Linked DNA regions of Homo sapiens: region 1 is linked to region 2. Evidence: promoter capture Hi-C in human tissues and cell types (Jung and others, 2019). All regions are on one chromosome and are shown on one strand. The core of a region is centred on a gene start or on the middle of the fragment in contact, and the rest is flanking DNA. Distances in the headings are between cores, read along the strand shown.

Region 1 (2,700 bases), core at 191-2,690, 340 kb after region 2:
TCACTGAAATGACAAAGAGTTGCAATGCTTGTCATACCAGAGTATTACCATTGGGAATGAGTGGCTGAAGTAGGGTGGACAACTGGAGGACAAGATCCTTGGAGGAGAGGAGGTCAAAGAATGGAAGGCCAGACATTGGAAGAATCATCTATATGTGGAAATAAGAAGGAACAACCTGGGGATTGTTAGATGACTAAAACAAGGAGAAGCAGTGGCTGGTAAAATATAATAATGTTAAGTTTAATTTTAATTTTTTTTTTGAGATAGAATCTCACTCTGTCACCCAGGCTGGAGTACAGTGGAACGATCACAGCTCACTGCAGCATTGACCTCCCAGGCTCAAGCAATCTTCTTAACTCAGCCTCCTGAATAGCTAGGACTACATGTGTGCACCATCATGCCCAGCTATTTTTTTTTAATTTTTTGAGAGATGGGGTCTCACTGTGTTGCCCCAGCTGGTCTCAAACTCCTAGGCTCAAGCAATTCTCGCACCTCAGTCTCCCAAAGTGCTGGGATTACAGGTGTGAGCCACGATGGCCAGCCATAATGCGAAGTTTTAAGAAGCTTTCAGGGAGAAGGGAGAGAGAATGCTCTGGAAGCAGCCAAGAGAATCAATAGAGACATTCACCCATTTCCTGTCAGTGTTACAAGGAAGGTAGAAGAGGACAGAGCCATTGTTTGAGAAGCCTACAGGGCAAGCCAAGCTTCAGCTACAGCTGGAAAGTGAAAGCTGCACTGAGAGAACAGGGTGAGAATTTGGCGGATTTAGCTGAAGACTAACCAAGAGTTCCAGAGGGTGCAAGAAAGAATCTTAGAGATAGCAAGGGTGGTACTTAGGATCCATGCTACCTATGGGCATATGCTCACCTCACCTATTGCAAGTTACTTAACCTCTGCTTTGTTCCCAGTTTCCTTGTCTGTAAATTGGGGATAATCATGGTATGGGCCTCACTCAAAGTGTTATTTTGAAGATTATATTCAACAATACAAGGAAGGCATTTAGAAAGTCCTTATAACTGTGCACCTGGCACACGGTCTGCACTTAAAAAATGTTACGTATTATTAAAGGATACTTTCTCTCCTGTATCATCCTATTGAATTATTTGAAAAATCTTTTATTTTCATTTAACATTTCAATGATATGAAAAGGTTTTAAATCCTAAGATTATAAAATCTAAGGAGGAGGGATAATACCATGTACTTGTCTGAGTCTTCTACAAGGTTCAAGATTTGAACAACAATGGCAGAGGGCCAAACAAACTAACACCAACTGTGACCTCAGGAGGAGGTATCACTATAGTCTCCATCTCCCAGACCTATCCTACAGATGTCAAGGGATTTAACTAATCTTTCAGAGGAAAAAAAGGTGCAGGGCAGACATGAACAAAAATGGAAGATAATAGCTCATGGGTATCAAACTAACCTTAATCCCTACTCTCAGGATATTGACTCTCTTAACATAACATATTCTTCAACCTCCTTTCAACAGATTTTTATGTGGAATGATAAACGCTTTCTGAAAACATAAATGAGCCGATTTTCTCAAAGACAAGGATTGAGGGATAGAAAAGCAATTCCTAGCCCTATAATAGGCCAGATGACAATTTCAAATCAAGAAACCTTCCTAAAACAAGGAAATATGAAAGAACATACCATTTGCCTAGCAATTTTAAAACACATTAACATTCCACTGTACTCCCAAATAAATTCCAGAGTTATCAAAAAGTCAAACACTTTAAGAAAAACTTTCATAAAATATATTTACCAGCTCTATGGAAAAAAGGGGAGCCTTCTCAGGAACAATCATTGTTTTTTTTTTAAAAAAGATGATGTGCATATTCAATAAATATTTACTGAGTGCCTATGTGTCCAGCAGTGTTTGAGGTTATCAGTCATATATTAACATCTCTAACTCAATTAAAAAAATAGCATAACCACCTAGGGAAATTTTGCATTGAAAATTTCAAAAGGTCAAAAACTTGGATAGAAAGTTTACCCAAACTTATTTTTAAAATAATATGGACTATACCAGATAAAAGGGCAAAATATTACCAAACTAGTACCATATAAGAAAATACAAATAGATTTCTCATATTTGGAAAGCATTCTTTTTTTTTTTTGAGACAGAGTCTCACTCTGTTGCCCAGGCTGGAGTGCAGTAGCGTGATCTTGGCTCACTGAAATCTCCACCTCCTGGGTTCAAGTGATTCTCTGCCTCAGCCTCCCAAGTAGCTGGGACTACAGGGGCGCGCTACTGTGCCTGGCTAATTTTTTTGTACTTTTAGTAGAGACGGGGTTTCACCATGTTAGCCAGACTGGTCTCAAACTCCTCACCTCGTGATCCACCCGCCAAGACCTCCCAAAGTACTGGGATTATGGGTGTGAGCCACCGCGCCTGGACAGCATTCATTTTTTTAACAACCAAAAGAAATGCCATATAAAATGATGTGAAGTACTATTTTACATTTAAATTCCATATTATTAAGATAATGGTGGAAAAGAGGCAGGTACAGGGTGCCTTTCTCCCAGTAGCCTAATCTGTGGACTCTCTCTACAAAACAAGACAGAAAAAGCCAAGGCAATGCTCAGTCTCTGACCAGAGAATGCCACTTCCAGCACCAAAACTGAGGAAATAATTCAAGTGGCTCAAAAAGGTATATGTAAGAGTTAATGGCAGCATAAGCCAGAATACCAGAAAAA
Region 2 (2,700 bases), core at 201-2,700:
GGTGCAGGCCATGGTGGCACCAGGCCTCAGTCTGCACCCCCCCTCTCTCAGGTGGTCAGAGCGCTCACGGTGATGTTGCACAGACAGTGGCTGACAGTGCGGAGGGCAGGGGGACCCCCAAGGACCGACCAGCAGAGGCGGACAGTGCGCTGTCTGCGGGACACGGTGCTGCTGCTGCACGGCCTATCGCAGAAGGACAAGCTCTTCATGATGCACTGCGTGGAGGTCCTGCATCAGTTTGACCAGGTGATGCCGGGGGTCAGCATGCTCATCCGAGGGCTTCCTGATGTGACGGACTGTGAAGGTAAGCCTGCCAGAGGCCATCCTGCCCAGCCCCCATGGCTTCTTCCAGAGGTTCCCCAACAAGTCAGATTCCTGGGTGTCCCCTCAGCAGGCCCCCGCCCACTGCAGCCTGTTCCAGCACTGGGGCCATTTTCTTTTATCTTCCTGCCTCAGTTCTTCTCCAAGCATATTGGGATGCCTTTTGCATCTATCTGTTGAGTGTGCCTGGCAGAGCCACGGTTTTTCCAGAAATAGCCGTGTCTGAATTGCCTTTGTATCACTTTGTTTGCAGTAGCTGAGGGAGCAGGGCCTGGGTGTGGAAGGGACTGGTTAGTTCCTGCGGACGTTGGGGGAGGAGAGGTGGGACCTGCCCTAGGCCCTGGCACCTTTGGGCCCTCACCAGGAACCTCTCCTTTTTGTCTCAGAGGCAGCCCTGGATGACCTCTGTGCCGCGGAAACCGATGTGGAAGACCCCGAGGTGGAGTGTGGCTGAGGCCCTGAGTGTCCAGCCACATGGTGGCACCAGCACCACTCCTTTCCTTACCACATCAACTGATTAAAGCAGTGACCAGCAGGAACTGCCCAGAGAACTGGCTGGCCTTGTTTCCTGAGTCTGATCTGTTTGGCGGAGTGGGAGGGGTGGAGCAGGACCCGGACCCTGAGTGGCTGGGATCCTTCTTCCTGTCCCTGGCTGTTGCTGAGCCCGTCCCCATGGTAACTGATCTGCCTTGAGGAAGGAGCCCTGCCCTGCCTGTGGAATTGTCCTGAGTCATTGCTTTGGGCTGGGGCCATGGGAAGAAACCATTGTGTGGCAGGGAAGGAGGTGGCTCTTGGCCCAGGCCTAAACCAGGAAAGCCTGGGAAACTGGGACCCACAGGTGGGCATGAAAGGGCCGCAGCAGGGGCTCCCAGCAGTGTGTAAGACCGGGAGCTGGTCTGGCACCACTGCCCTGGTCCTTCCAGCTGCCTGTCACTGGTATGATGGCCCCGGTGCATTGTGCCACCAGCAGGCCACAGCTGTGGATCTTGGAAGGCCTCTGGGGTCCCCCGGGAGCAGGGGAGTGGGTGTGGGGGGGAACGGATGGTGGTGAGAGGGACAGACCAGGCAGGCTGACGAGCAGGGCGGGCCTGGCTCACGTGGGCCTGTAGGCGGGCCCACGCCAAGTTTCACTTCCCGCCACTGCTGCCAGCGAGAGCCGCGGGAGAGTGTGCAGCCGAGTCACTACTGCCTGCCTGCCTGCCTGCTACGGTGAGTGTGGCCCCCACAATGGGATGGCGCAGGGCAGGAGGGCCATGGGTTCCCCCACCCCAGACTAAGGGGGCACTAGGGGAGGGGCCGAGTCATGTGAAGAGGGAGACCCTCTCAGACAGTCGAATGTGCTGGTCCCACTAAGGAAACCACCTCACCCTCTCCAACTTCCTGCCTGAAAATGGGCCCTGGAGCTCGCAGACAGGGCAGGATTGTGCAGGGAAGGCCTGAGATGTGCTTCTGCCCACCCCCTACCCCACTCCCTCCCCTTCGGATCTTAACACTGGGCACTCACACACCCACCCCATGCTCCTCTCCAGGCTCAGCAGCAGGTACGTACCCAACCATGGGCTCGCAGGCCCTGCCCCCGGGGCCCATGCAGACCCTCATCTTTTTCGACATGGAGGCCACTGGCTTGCCCTTCTCCCAGCCCAAGGTCACGGAGCTGTGCCTGCTGGCTGTCCACAGATGTGCCCTGGAGAGCCCCCCCACCTCTCAGGGGCCACCTCCCACAGTTCCTCCACCACCGCGTGTGGTAGACAAGCTCTCCCTGTGTGTGGCTCCGGGGAAGGCCTGCAGCCCTGCAGCCAGCGAGATCACAGGTCTGAGCACAGCTGTGCTGGCAGCGCATGGGCGTCAATGTTTTGATGACAACCTGGCCAACCTGCTCCTAGCCTTCCTGCGGCGCCAGCCACAGCCCTGGTGCCTGGTGGCACACAATGGTGACCGCTACGACTTCCCCCTGCTCCAAGCAGAGCTGGCTATGCTGGGCCTCACCAGTGCTCTGGATGGTGCCTTCTGTGTGGATAGCATCACTGCGCTGAAGGCCCTGGAGCGAGCAAGCAGCCCCTCAGAACACGGCCCAAGGAAGAGCTATAGCCTAGGCAGCATCTACACTCGCCTGTATGGGCAGTCCCCTCCAGACTCGCACACGGCTGAGGGTGATGTCCTGGCCCTGCTCAGCATCTGTCAGTGGAGACCACAGGCCCTGCTGCGGTGGGTGGATGCTCACGCCAGGCCTTTCGGCACCATCAGGCCCATGTATGGGGTCACAGCCTCTGCTAGGACCAAGCCAAGACCATCTGCTGTCACAACCACTGCACACCTGGCCACAACCAGGAACACTAGTCCCAGCCTTGGAGAGAGCAGGGGTACCAAGGATCTTCCTCC

The links. The method cuts DNA at HindIII sites, captures the fragments that hold promoters and counts their contacts. A contact is called where the count stands out against the background at its distance.
Region 1: a contact is called between a fragment that was not itself captured here and the fragment with the promoter of TREX1 in region 2, in 1 of the 25 tissues and cell types used here (stomach).

What each region holds. Positions count from the first base shown.
Region 1 is chr3:48,804,670-48,807,369 of GRCh38, forward strand. All of the region lies in intron 2 of PRKAR2A (protein kinase cAMP-dependent type II regulatory subunit alpha), which reads right to left. Among named protein-coding and RNA genes, the nearest start is that of PRKAR2A, 42 kb to the right of the region's middle. The HindIII fragment of the contact is 5,640 bases long and covers 1-2,700 here.
Region 2 is chr3:48,464,780-48,467,479 of GRCh38, forward strand. TREX1 (three prime repair exonuclease 1) reads left to right here and starts at 1,451. Exons shown (of 2, transcript NM_033629.6): 1 at 1,451-1,530; 2 at 1,851-2,700. The coding sequence starts at 1,877. It overlaps ATRIP (ATR interacting protein), which reads left to right. Exons shown (of 13, transcript NM_130384.3): 12 at 52-304; 13 at 708-2,700. The coding sequence ends at 775. ATRIP-TREX1 (ATRIP-TREX1 readthrough) reads left to right here. Exons shown (of 15, transcript NR_153405.1): 13 at 52-304; 14 at 708-1,530; 15 at 1,851-2,700. RefSeq lists enhancers at 677-766, 1,379-2,260, 1,847-2,046, 2,261-2,700. The HindIII fragment of the contact is 7,289 bases long and covers 1-2,700 here.